Regions from separate parts of the Homo sapiens genome. Here region 2 is linked to region 1. The links are contacts of gene promoters, found by promoter capture Hi-C in blood cells and fetal thymus (Javierre and others, 2016). All regions are on one chromosome and are shown on one strand. The core of a region is centred on a gene start or on the middle of the fragment in contact, and the rest is flanking DNA. Distances in the headings are between cores, read along the strand shown. Region 1 holds the start of WNT8A (Wnt family member 8A). Region 2 overlaps BRD8 (bromodomain containing 8).

Region 1 (4,722 bases), core at 1,928-4,427:
TAAATATCTTGCCCAAGGTCACACAACAAGCCCAGGGCTCCTGATACCTGGAGCAGAGGCCTCTCTATAAATTCTCACTTCCATTTAGAAAAACTATATGATCTTGCCGGGCGCAGTGGCTCACGCCTGTAATCCCAGCACTTTGGGAGGCCGAGACGGGTGGATCACGAGGTCAGGAGATCGAGACCATCCTGGCGAACACAGTGAAACCCTGTCTCTACTAAAAATTCAATACAGGCGGGCGCCTGTAGTCCCAGCTACTCGGGAGGCTGAGGCAGGAGAATGGCGTGAACAAGGGAGGCGGAGCTTGCAGTGAGCGGAGATCGCGCCACTGCACTGCAGCCTGGGCGACAGAGCGAGACTCTGTCTCAAAAAAAAAAAAAAAAAGAAAAACTATATGATCTTTATAGAATCTGAGCAGGAGCGAGCACAGTTTGCATACAAAAAACTATCTTCCCCTCTGCTTCCTAGAAAAAAAAGAGTATTTTTTTGTAGAGTACCAATTAAATGCCAGGTGCAGCGGAGAACACAGAAGCATAAGACCCAGTCACTCACACACAGGAAGTGAAAGCGGAGTCACTCCTAAAACTCTTTCGAGGTGGCAGGGGACTTCCTCGGAGCTATCACTAACCCAGTTCTGACCCCAGAGTGAATGCCATGGAAATCAACCCTGCTGTCTTAAGAAGTGAAAGTTAAATTAGATTCTTGATTGGGAAAAGTAGGAGACAGAGAAAAGGCCGCTGAGGCTAACTCAGTGGGCTTTTCTCGCTTAACTCAAGTCTGGGACACCTATTTTCCCCAAGCAGAGAGGCCCACAAGCAATCAAAGGAAGAGAGCTTGCGGGGGGCTGGGAGGCAGAGCTTTAGTCCATTAGGACTTTTTGTCCTCATCCTTCTGAAGAAATGAAACAAAAAACTACATACAAAATAAGAGCCCAAATTTCCTCCTAGGTTTAGCATATCTAAAATTGCTCCAAATTGCTATAAAAATTTCTAAACACTTCTATTTTTGTAATTATCTTATGTCAGAAGGACAACAGTCAGTTTGCAGACCGACGCCAAGCCTGGCCCATACTTGGAGTATGCCCTAAAGACACCTGGGGACTCTTTGGCCCCTGGAACTCCTTTGGTGGGGGGATCTCTGAGCTCCACTTCCCACCCAAACCAGGTCCAAAGTTCTGGGAAGTGATCTGGATGTTGTAATGGTCACAGGATGGAGTCAGAACTGTGACTTTCCATCTATGCTTTCCTCTGAACTTCTCTAGACTTCCTTCTCCAGCCTTAGGAAAGAGCTTCAGCAACCAAGAAGGACTTTCCCACCTTTTGTTCTAGTCCCCAAGCATACCTAATGGTGCCCACTAGGGGTCACAGGGTCTTTCGTTTGTTCATCCAGGTGCCTTCTTAAGCTCTAAGAACCGAAAGTGAACCTAAAAGACATTCCTGGCTGGGTGCGGTGGCTCATGCCTGTAATCCCAGCACTTCAGGAGGCCAAAGGCGTGTGGATCACCTGATGTCAGGAGTTTGAGACCAGCCTGGCCAACATAGGGAAACCCTGTCTCTACTAAAAGTACAAAATTAGCTGGACATGGTGGCACATGCCTGTAATCTCAGCTACTGGGGAGGCTGAGGCAGGAGAATCACTTGAACACAGAGGTGGAGGTTGCAGTAAGTTGAGATGGCACACTTGCACTCCAGCCCGGGTGACAAGAGTGAAACTCTGCCTCAAAAAATAAAATAAAATAAGGCTGGGTATGGTGGCTCACGCCTGTAATCCCAGCACTTTGGGAGGCCGAGGCAGGTGGATCACGAGATTAAGAGATCGAGACCATCCCGGCCAACATGGTGAAACCCGTCTCTACTAAAAATACAAAAATTAGCTGGGCATGGTGGCGCACACCTGTAATCCCAGCTACTCCGGAGGCTGAGGCAGGAGAATTGCTCGATCCCAGGAAGTGGAGGTTGCAGTGAGCCGAGATCATGCCACTGCACTCCAGCCTGGCGACAGAGTGAGACTCCATCTCAAAATAAATAAATAAATAAATAAATAAATAAATAAATAAATAAATAAAATAAAATAAAAGACAGATTCCCACCTAAGGAGCTGAAGTCCTAGTAACAAAGTAGTATCAGAAAGAAAGGCATCAGGGCCACGCCCAGTGGCTCATGCCTATAATCCCAGCATTTTGGGAGGCCAAGGTGGGCAGATCACTTGAGCCCAGGAGTTCAAGACCAGGCTGGCCAACTGGCGAAACCCCTTCTCTACTAAAAATACAAAATTTAGCTGGGTGTGGTGGCTGGCACCTGTAGTCTCAGATACTTGGGAGGCTGAGGTAGGAGAATCACTTGAACCCAGGAGGCAGAGGTTGTAGTGAGCTGAGATTGCACCACTGCACTCCAGCCTGGGCGACAGAGCGAGAGACTCTGTCTCAAAAAAAAAAAAAAAAGAGAAAGGCATCAGTCTTCCCAAATATAACCCTGGGTGGCCCTAAGGTTGGTTCTCAGATATATAAAAAATCAACTAACTGGAGTTGTAACCCTCAGATATAAAAGGATAGATTTGCTAGGAATTAAGGAAATTTCCCAGCAGTTGCTAGAATGTGGTGGAAGGGACTGTTGCAGAGATGGACTCTGAAGTGTTCCTGCTCCATAGTCCCACAGCTCCATCACCTCACAGCCTTGAAGGAAGTGGTAGGGATGGCGCACTCACTGGTTTAGGTAAATGAGTAGGAAGCAGCCCCAGATGGAGTTGCTTTATGATTATTAACACCTTGGGGAGGATGGCAGGACAGAGAGTGGGCTCTCACTGACAGATGAGGACACTGTAGCTCCAAGAATAGGTGACCTGCCTTCAGGGTTAAGGACCCAGCCTGCTCTGGCCTACATGATTCTGAGAAATGGGCCAAAGAAGCAGGAAGAGACAAAATTGACATATAGAAGAAAGAAATCTCACGTATAGGAGAAAAGCAGCCTCCTTCTCATTCTGGGAGGGAAGAAGGGCTGGAGGGGCTGGGCAGGGCGGGGCTTTTGGCGAAAACTGAGTCCCTCCTCCCAGATCCCCCACTGGGCCGGTGGCTCCTGCAGCCCTGCCAGTTAGGAACAAATGAGAAGAGCTGCTGATTTCCTCCCTTGGACATTCAGAATTTTCTCACATAAATACTGAGGAAGACCCTGCCCTCTCCTCACTTCTCTGGACTTGGCCCTGAGCTGGACCTGGTCCACTGGGGTAGGCAGGGCGATGGGGAACCTGTTTATGCTCTGGGCAGCTCTGGGCATATGCTGTGCTGCATTCAGTGCCTCTGCCTGGTAAGTCCTTTCCCAACCCTCACTCCTTGCCAAGGAGGCCCCCATTGTCTCATCCCCATTCACCTCTGCCTCACTTTTTCTCTTTTTGGTAGGTCAGTGAACAATTTCCTGATAACAGGTCCCAAGGTAGGATGATCTCCAGCTTCTGTTTTTACCCACTGAGGGCCCTAAGGGGACTCTTCTGGAGAAAAGAGGGGCGGGGACAGTGCCAGAGCCCCTCACCCAGAGGAACCCATGGTTGATTCTTAATGGAGAGCTGGCCCATCTGAGTCCTGCCTGCTCCCCCAACCACAGATGACCCATACCGGGCAGAAGCTCACAGCCCTTTTCCCTTTGCCAGGCCTATCTGACCTACACGACTAGTGTGGCCTTGGGTGCCCAGAGTGGCATCGAGGAGTGCAAGTTCCAGTTTGCTTGGGAACGCTGGAACTGCCCTGAAAATGCTCTTCAGCTCTCCACCCACAACAGGCTGAGAAGTGGTAAGTTTGTGTGGGACTCACCTGTACAAGGGGTATATATGTGAATGGAGTGGGGCTTGCAGTATGTGTATATGTGTGACATGTATTGCACAGTGAAATAAAAATGCTGCCAGTGACCTGCTGACCTGCCATTTCCTTGCTGTGTGGCCTTGAGTAAATTACCTACCCTCTCTCAGCCCCAGATTTGTCATTTGGGTCAGTAAGGCCAGTTCTGTTTAGTTCATCAGAAGTATCCTATGGGTTGAATGAGGTGGGTATGAGGTGTCTCTATGTATGAGATAAATGTAGGAAATTACTCTTTTTTTTTTTTCTTTTTTTGAGACGGAGTCTCACTCTGTTGCCCAGGCTGGAGTGCAATGGCGCAATCTCGGCTTACCGCAACTTCCGCCTCCGGAGTTCAAGTGATTCTCCTGCCTCAGCCTCCCGAGTAGCTGGGATTACAGGCATGCAACATGCCTGGCTAATTTTTTGTATTTTTAGTAGAGATGGGGTTTCACCATGTTGGCCAGGCTGGTCTCAAACTCCTGACCTCAGGTGATCCACCCACCTCAGCCTCCAAAAGTGCTGGGATTACAGGCGTAAGCCACCGTGCCCAGCGGAAATTACTCTATTTTTTAAATGCATGCCTATATTTGTGCGTTTGTACACACTGATCTTGCACTGAGTTGCATGAAATAAAAATGGGGAAAGGGCTGTGTGTTTGCAGCTCCTGAGGAAGTTTCACATGGCTAACTGCCATAAAATCTCAACAGAAAAGCTGAGACGTCACATTGAGTTGTGCCTCAGGTGGGGTGTGTGTCTATGTGTGTGTATGGGTGTGCACGTGCACCCATTTGTAACTGTGTGCCGTAGTTTGCATGTCATTTTTGAAGATAACATTCACCTGAGAATAGTTAGGGGAACGAGAGTAAAGAAGACGGAGAAAGTGGCTAAGCACGTGT
Region 2 (4,622 bases), core at 175-2,674, 66 kb after region 1:
TGCCTTGGCCTCCTGTGTAGCTAGGACTACAGGTGCATGCCCCCACACCCAATAAATTTTGTTTATTTTTTGTAAAGATGAGGTTTCACTATATTGCCCAGGCTAGTCTCAAAATCCTGAGCTCAAGCAATCCTCCTGCCTCTGCCTCCCAAAGTGCTGAGATTACAGGTGTGAGCCACTGCGCCTGGCCTAATTTTTTCTTTAAAAAAAAATTTTTTTATCCTCTTCCTTGTCTCCATCAAAATAATTTTCCATTTCAAGTTCATAAAATCTATTTTAATATTTTTAAAAGAGGTATAGTTTGGGCCAGGCACAGTGGCTCAAGCCTGTAATCCCAACACTTTAGGAGGCTGAGGTAGGAGGATCACTTGAAACCAGGAGTTCAAGACAAGCCTGGGCAATATAGCAAGGCCAGCCCTGTCTACAAAAAATAAAAAATCAGCTGGGTGTGGTGGCCCATGGCTGTATTCCCAGCTACTTGGAAGCCTGAGGTGGGAGGATCCCTTGAGTTCAGGAAGTCAAGCTGCAGTGAGTCATGATCGTGCCCATTGCACTCCAGCCTGGGTGATGGAGCTAGACCCTGTCTCTATTAAAGAAAAAAAAAGCACCATAGTTTGTATATTAGGCATAGTTTGTATAATATTAGCTCCATCACCCAGGCTGGAGTGATACAGACTTGGCTAGAGTACAGTGGCACAATCATGGCTCACTGCAGCTTGACCTCCTGGGCTCAGGTGATCCTCCCACCTCAGCTTCCGGAGTACCTGAGACTATAGACAAGTGACACCATACCTGGCTAATTTTTTTTTAATTTTTATTTTGTAGAGGCATGGTCTCCCTATGTTGCCCAGGCTGGTCTCAAAGTCCTGGGATCAAGGGATCCTCCTGCCTTGGCCTCCCAAAGTGCTGGAATTACAGGTGTGAGCCACCACACCTAGCCTTGAAAGACAGTCCTAATATTGATTAAACATATTTGTTTTATAACAGGAGAGCATATAGACTTCTATTTATATGATGTTAAAATTATACTTAATTAATTATATTTTTTGTGTTTTCCAACTCTAATTTTCTTTAACTTATAAAAGTAATCCATTTCATGATTCAAATAGGCATAAACAGAAGTACGAATCTTAACAAACTTGGATGAAAGTCTACGCTTACAGCTTTGAGGAGGTAGCATGGCTGAAAAGTGTATCCACCAAGGGAGTCTCCTTAATGTTAAAGGCATCATCACACTCGCCTGAAGGGGGCTGGTCTTCCATCTCTGACACATATACTTCACCCTGGTCCTCCCCTTTGGATTCTTGCTGAGCCTCCCCCTAGGAATGCCAGGAAACAGGAAACTTTAGAAGGAGATTTACTTTCTGCATAGTAATTTTACTTGCATAGAGTAAATGAAGGCTGCCCTTAAGGTGAGAAGAGGTCAATTACATAAAGCTACAAAAGAAATTAAAGAAAGCTGACTTAACTAGATTTAAGTTAATGAGTTCTTGGTAACAATCTTGCTGGAGGACTTTGACTCTGTGCCACTCACCTCCAGCAAAATGGAAAAGCATTATTTGCCCAATTCTCATTGGATTCTTTAAAAACCATCATGATCACCTGTGGCCCTGGAGTTAACTACTCTAGCTGGCCAGATAATTTTTTTTTTTTTTTTGAGACAGGGTCTCACTCTGTTGCCCAGGCTGGAGTGCAGTAGCATCATCATGGCTCACTGCAGCCTTGCACTCCTGGGCTCCCCCGAGACCCCTAAGTAGCTGGAACTACAGGAACATGCCACCATACCTGGCTAATTTGTTTTTTGTTTTTTGTAGAGATGGTGTCTCCCTGTATTGCCCAGACTGGTCTTGAACTCCTGAGCTCAAGAGATCCTACTGCCTCTGCCTCCCAAAGCACTGGGATTACAGGCATGAGCCATTGCACCCCACCTGCCAGATAATATTAATAATGATGACGGTATTCTAAATTTTACTGATTGCTTACTATAAGCCAGGCACTGTGCTAAGTGCTTTACATGAATTATCTCATTTAAACCTCACAGCAATCCCACAAAATAGGGTGCTATTATTGCATTTCTGCAGAGAAAACTGAAGTTCTAAAATGTTCACTAACATGCTAAAGGTAACACAGCTAAAACTGGTGCTAAATCCAGGATTTGGATCCAGGTAGTTTAACTTTCTGGAGTTAGCCTATGTGCTCTAACTACTCTGTTCTGCTTCCCTAGGCAGAAGACCAACAAGACAGCTGATTTAAGTTACTTTCTTACCTCTTCACTCTCTGTGAGTAGTCCCTGAACTGTACAAATAACTGAGGGAGCTGAAGCCACCTCTGGCTTTCCATTTTCTCCCAGTGGCTTTTCAGCTACTAAGGGGTCTCCTTTAGCTGAAAGCTCTTCAGTCTCTCTGCAGAGCTCCCTTTCTCCTTCGCTAGCTTTAATTTCCCTTCCTTCTTGTCTGGTACCAGATGGAGGGCAGCAGCCTTCACTTGATTCGTTGCTGCTGATGCACAAGGGCTCCATTAAATAAGCTACCTGCAATCAAAGTTTATTATTAGATGCACAGGAACACCACTGAAAATCATCATCCACATATCAACAATGCCACATGCTAACACTGTCACAGTGACTAAGTCTGAGAGGACAAAATGGTTTAATTAATACAATCATCTAAAATCTGCCAAAATATCTTATATACACAGGCACTGGGCTGGTTGGTGGGGACACTACAGTGAACAAGAAAGATATGGTTCTTGCCTCTTCCAGGAGTTTATGTTCTACTTTTTCATCTCAGCTGTCAACTCTGATCAATTGGGAGTGGCTGTCTAGAATAAAGTGTTGAAAATTTTGTCTACCACAGACACTTGTAGAGAGAAGTGGCAACATTTGAAATGGATGCTTGCTGATCTTGATCTAGGGTCTTCTAAATGTGTTCAATAACAGCATACATATAACTCTCTGTCCAATTCTGTTTATTTCTGGTCCTCAGCCCTTAACCAAGGTAATGACACTTAAAAATACTACCTTAAAGTTACAGCATTTTAAGCTTCAAGGAAAATTTGGGCAAGTATAACTTCCCACAACTCCAAAAGCATGAATTACAAGGATACTCATAAAGCAGTCCTTATGACCCAGGCCCCTAATGACTGAAGTATTAGAAATTCAGTCAAAAAGCATGTATTTTTTTATTTTTAATTTTTTTACTTTTGAGACGGAGTCTCGCTCTGTTACCTAGGCTGGAGTCCAATGGCACGATCTCAGCTCACTGCAACTTCCGCCTCCCGGGTTCAAGCGATTCTCCTGCCTCAGCCTCCCAGGTAGCTGGGATTACAGGCACATGCCACCAAGCCCGGCTAATTTTTTAATTTTAATTTTAATTTTAATTAATTTATTTATTTAGAGACAGAGTTTCGCTCTGTCGCCCAGGCTGGAGTGCAATGGTGTGATCTCAGCTCACTGCAACCTCCGCCTCTCAGGTTCAAGTGATTCTCCTGCCTCAGCCTCCCGAGCAGCTGGGATTACAGGCGCCCGCCACCACGCCCGGCTAATTTTTTGTATTTTTAGTAGAGATGGGGTTTCACCATGTTGGCCAGGCTGGTCTTGAACTCCTGACCTCAAGTGATCCGCCCGCCTCGGCCTCCTAAAGTGCTGGGATTACAGGCATGAGCCACTGCGCCCGGCCATTTTTGTATTTTTAGTAGAGATGGGGTTTCACCATGTTGGCCAGGCTGGTCTCGAACTCCCAACCTCAAGTGATCCACTGGCCTCAGCCTCCCAAAGTGCTGGGATTACAGGCGTGAGCCACTGCACCCGGCCCAAAAAGCATGTATTTGGTGCATATTCTGTATCAGCACCAAGTGCTGAGGACATAGCAATGAACTTAATCCCTGCCACTGTGGAGCTTATATTTTAGTAAACAATATTAAGAGTGGTAGAAGCATGTAAGGATAAGCATTCTCTTAGAAAGTTGAGGCTTTTCCAGCTTTGGAAATAAGAGCTCACTGTTACCTCAGAGAGAAAGTGGAGGAGGTTCTGGTGGCTGGCTTTCCTTGCCGCTTCCTGAGATTCCTCACTGCCTCCATCCCCAACAAGCAGTTCACTAGGTTCTCTCTCCGGGCTGCTTTCCTCTAGTTCCTCAGCCTCTGGATCCTCAGTTTCCCTCCAGTTGCCCACATCAAGATCCAGACTGGAGTCCCATGAGCTGAAGAGGGACCTGCAGTCATTGCTCAACTCAGAGTCATTGGGATGATCTTGTTCAGAATCCAGCCAAACCCACTCGTGTCCCATCTGTAAATACACAGGAAAACATGCATTAAATTCATTCAAATAAATATTCCTGAGGCATCTCCATCTCCCGAGTTCAGTAGAAAAATAAGGGGCCAGAAATTTATTTGTATTCAAGTATTCATCATTAGGAAGAATTAAAATCTTGCTGAAGGGAGACATGAGATGAAATTATATTTGTCTTTGGGAATAAAGAAAGCCCCATGTCAGTATAACAGAGATATTGCACCATACAATACAGTATAATAGAGACATTAATATTACCTAATAATTATTTTTACTTGGAATTCCTCATATTCACACCAAAAGAAGGGAAAGAACTGGAGCATAGCTAGCTCAATTA

What was found. The method cuts DNA at HindIII sites, captures the fragments that hold promoters and counts their contacts. A CHiCAGO score of 5 or more calls a contact.
Region 2: a fragment that was not itself captured here is called in contact with the fragment with the promoter of WNT8A in region 1 in 6 of 17 cell types (M2 macrophages, total B cells, M0 macrophages and 3 more); the score reaches 7.2 in M2 macrophages.

What each region holds. Positions count from the first base shown.
Region 1 is chr5:138,080,856-138,085,577 of GRCh38, forward strand. WNT8A (Wnt family member 8A) reads left to right here and starts at 3,178. Exons shown (of 5, transcript NM_001300939.2): 1 at 3,178-3,428; 2 at 3,643-3,781. The coding sequence starts at 3,273. The HindIII fragment of the contact is 12,012 bases long and covers 1-4,722 here.
Region 2 is chr5:138,148,479-138,153,100 of GRCh38, forward strand. It overlaps BRD8 (bromodomain containing 8), which reads right to left. Exons shown (of 27, transcript NM_139199.2): 21 at 4,004-4,282; 22 at 2,267-2,530; 23 at 1,162-1,319. Among named protein-coding and RNA genes, the nearest start is that of NME5, 11 kb to the left of the region's middle. The HindIII fragment of the contact is 3,230 bases long and covers 1-3,039 here.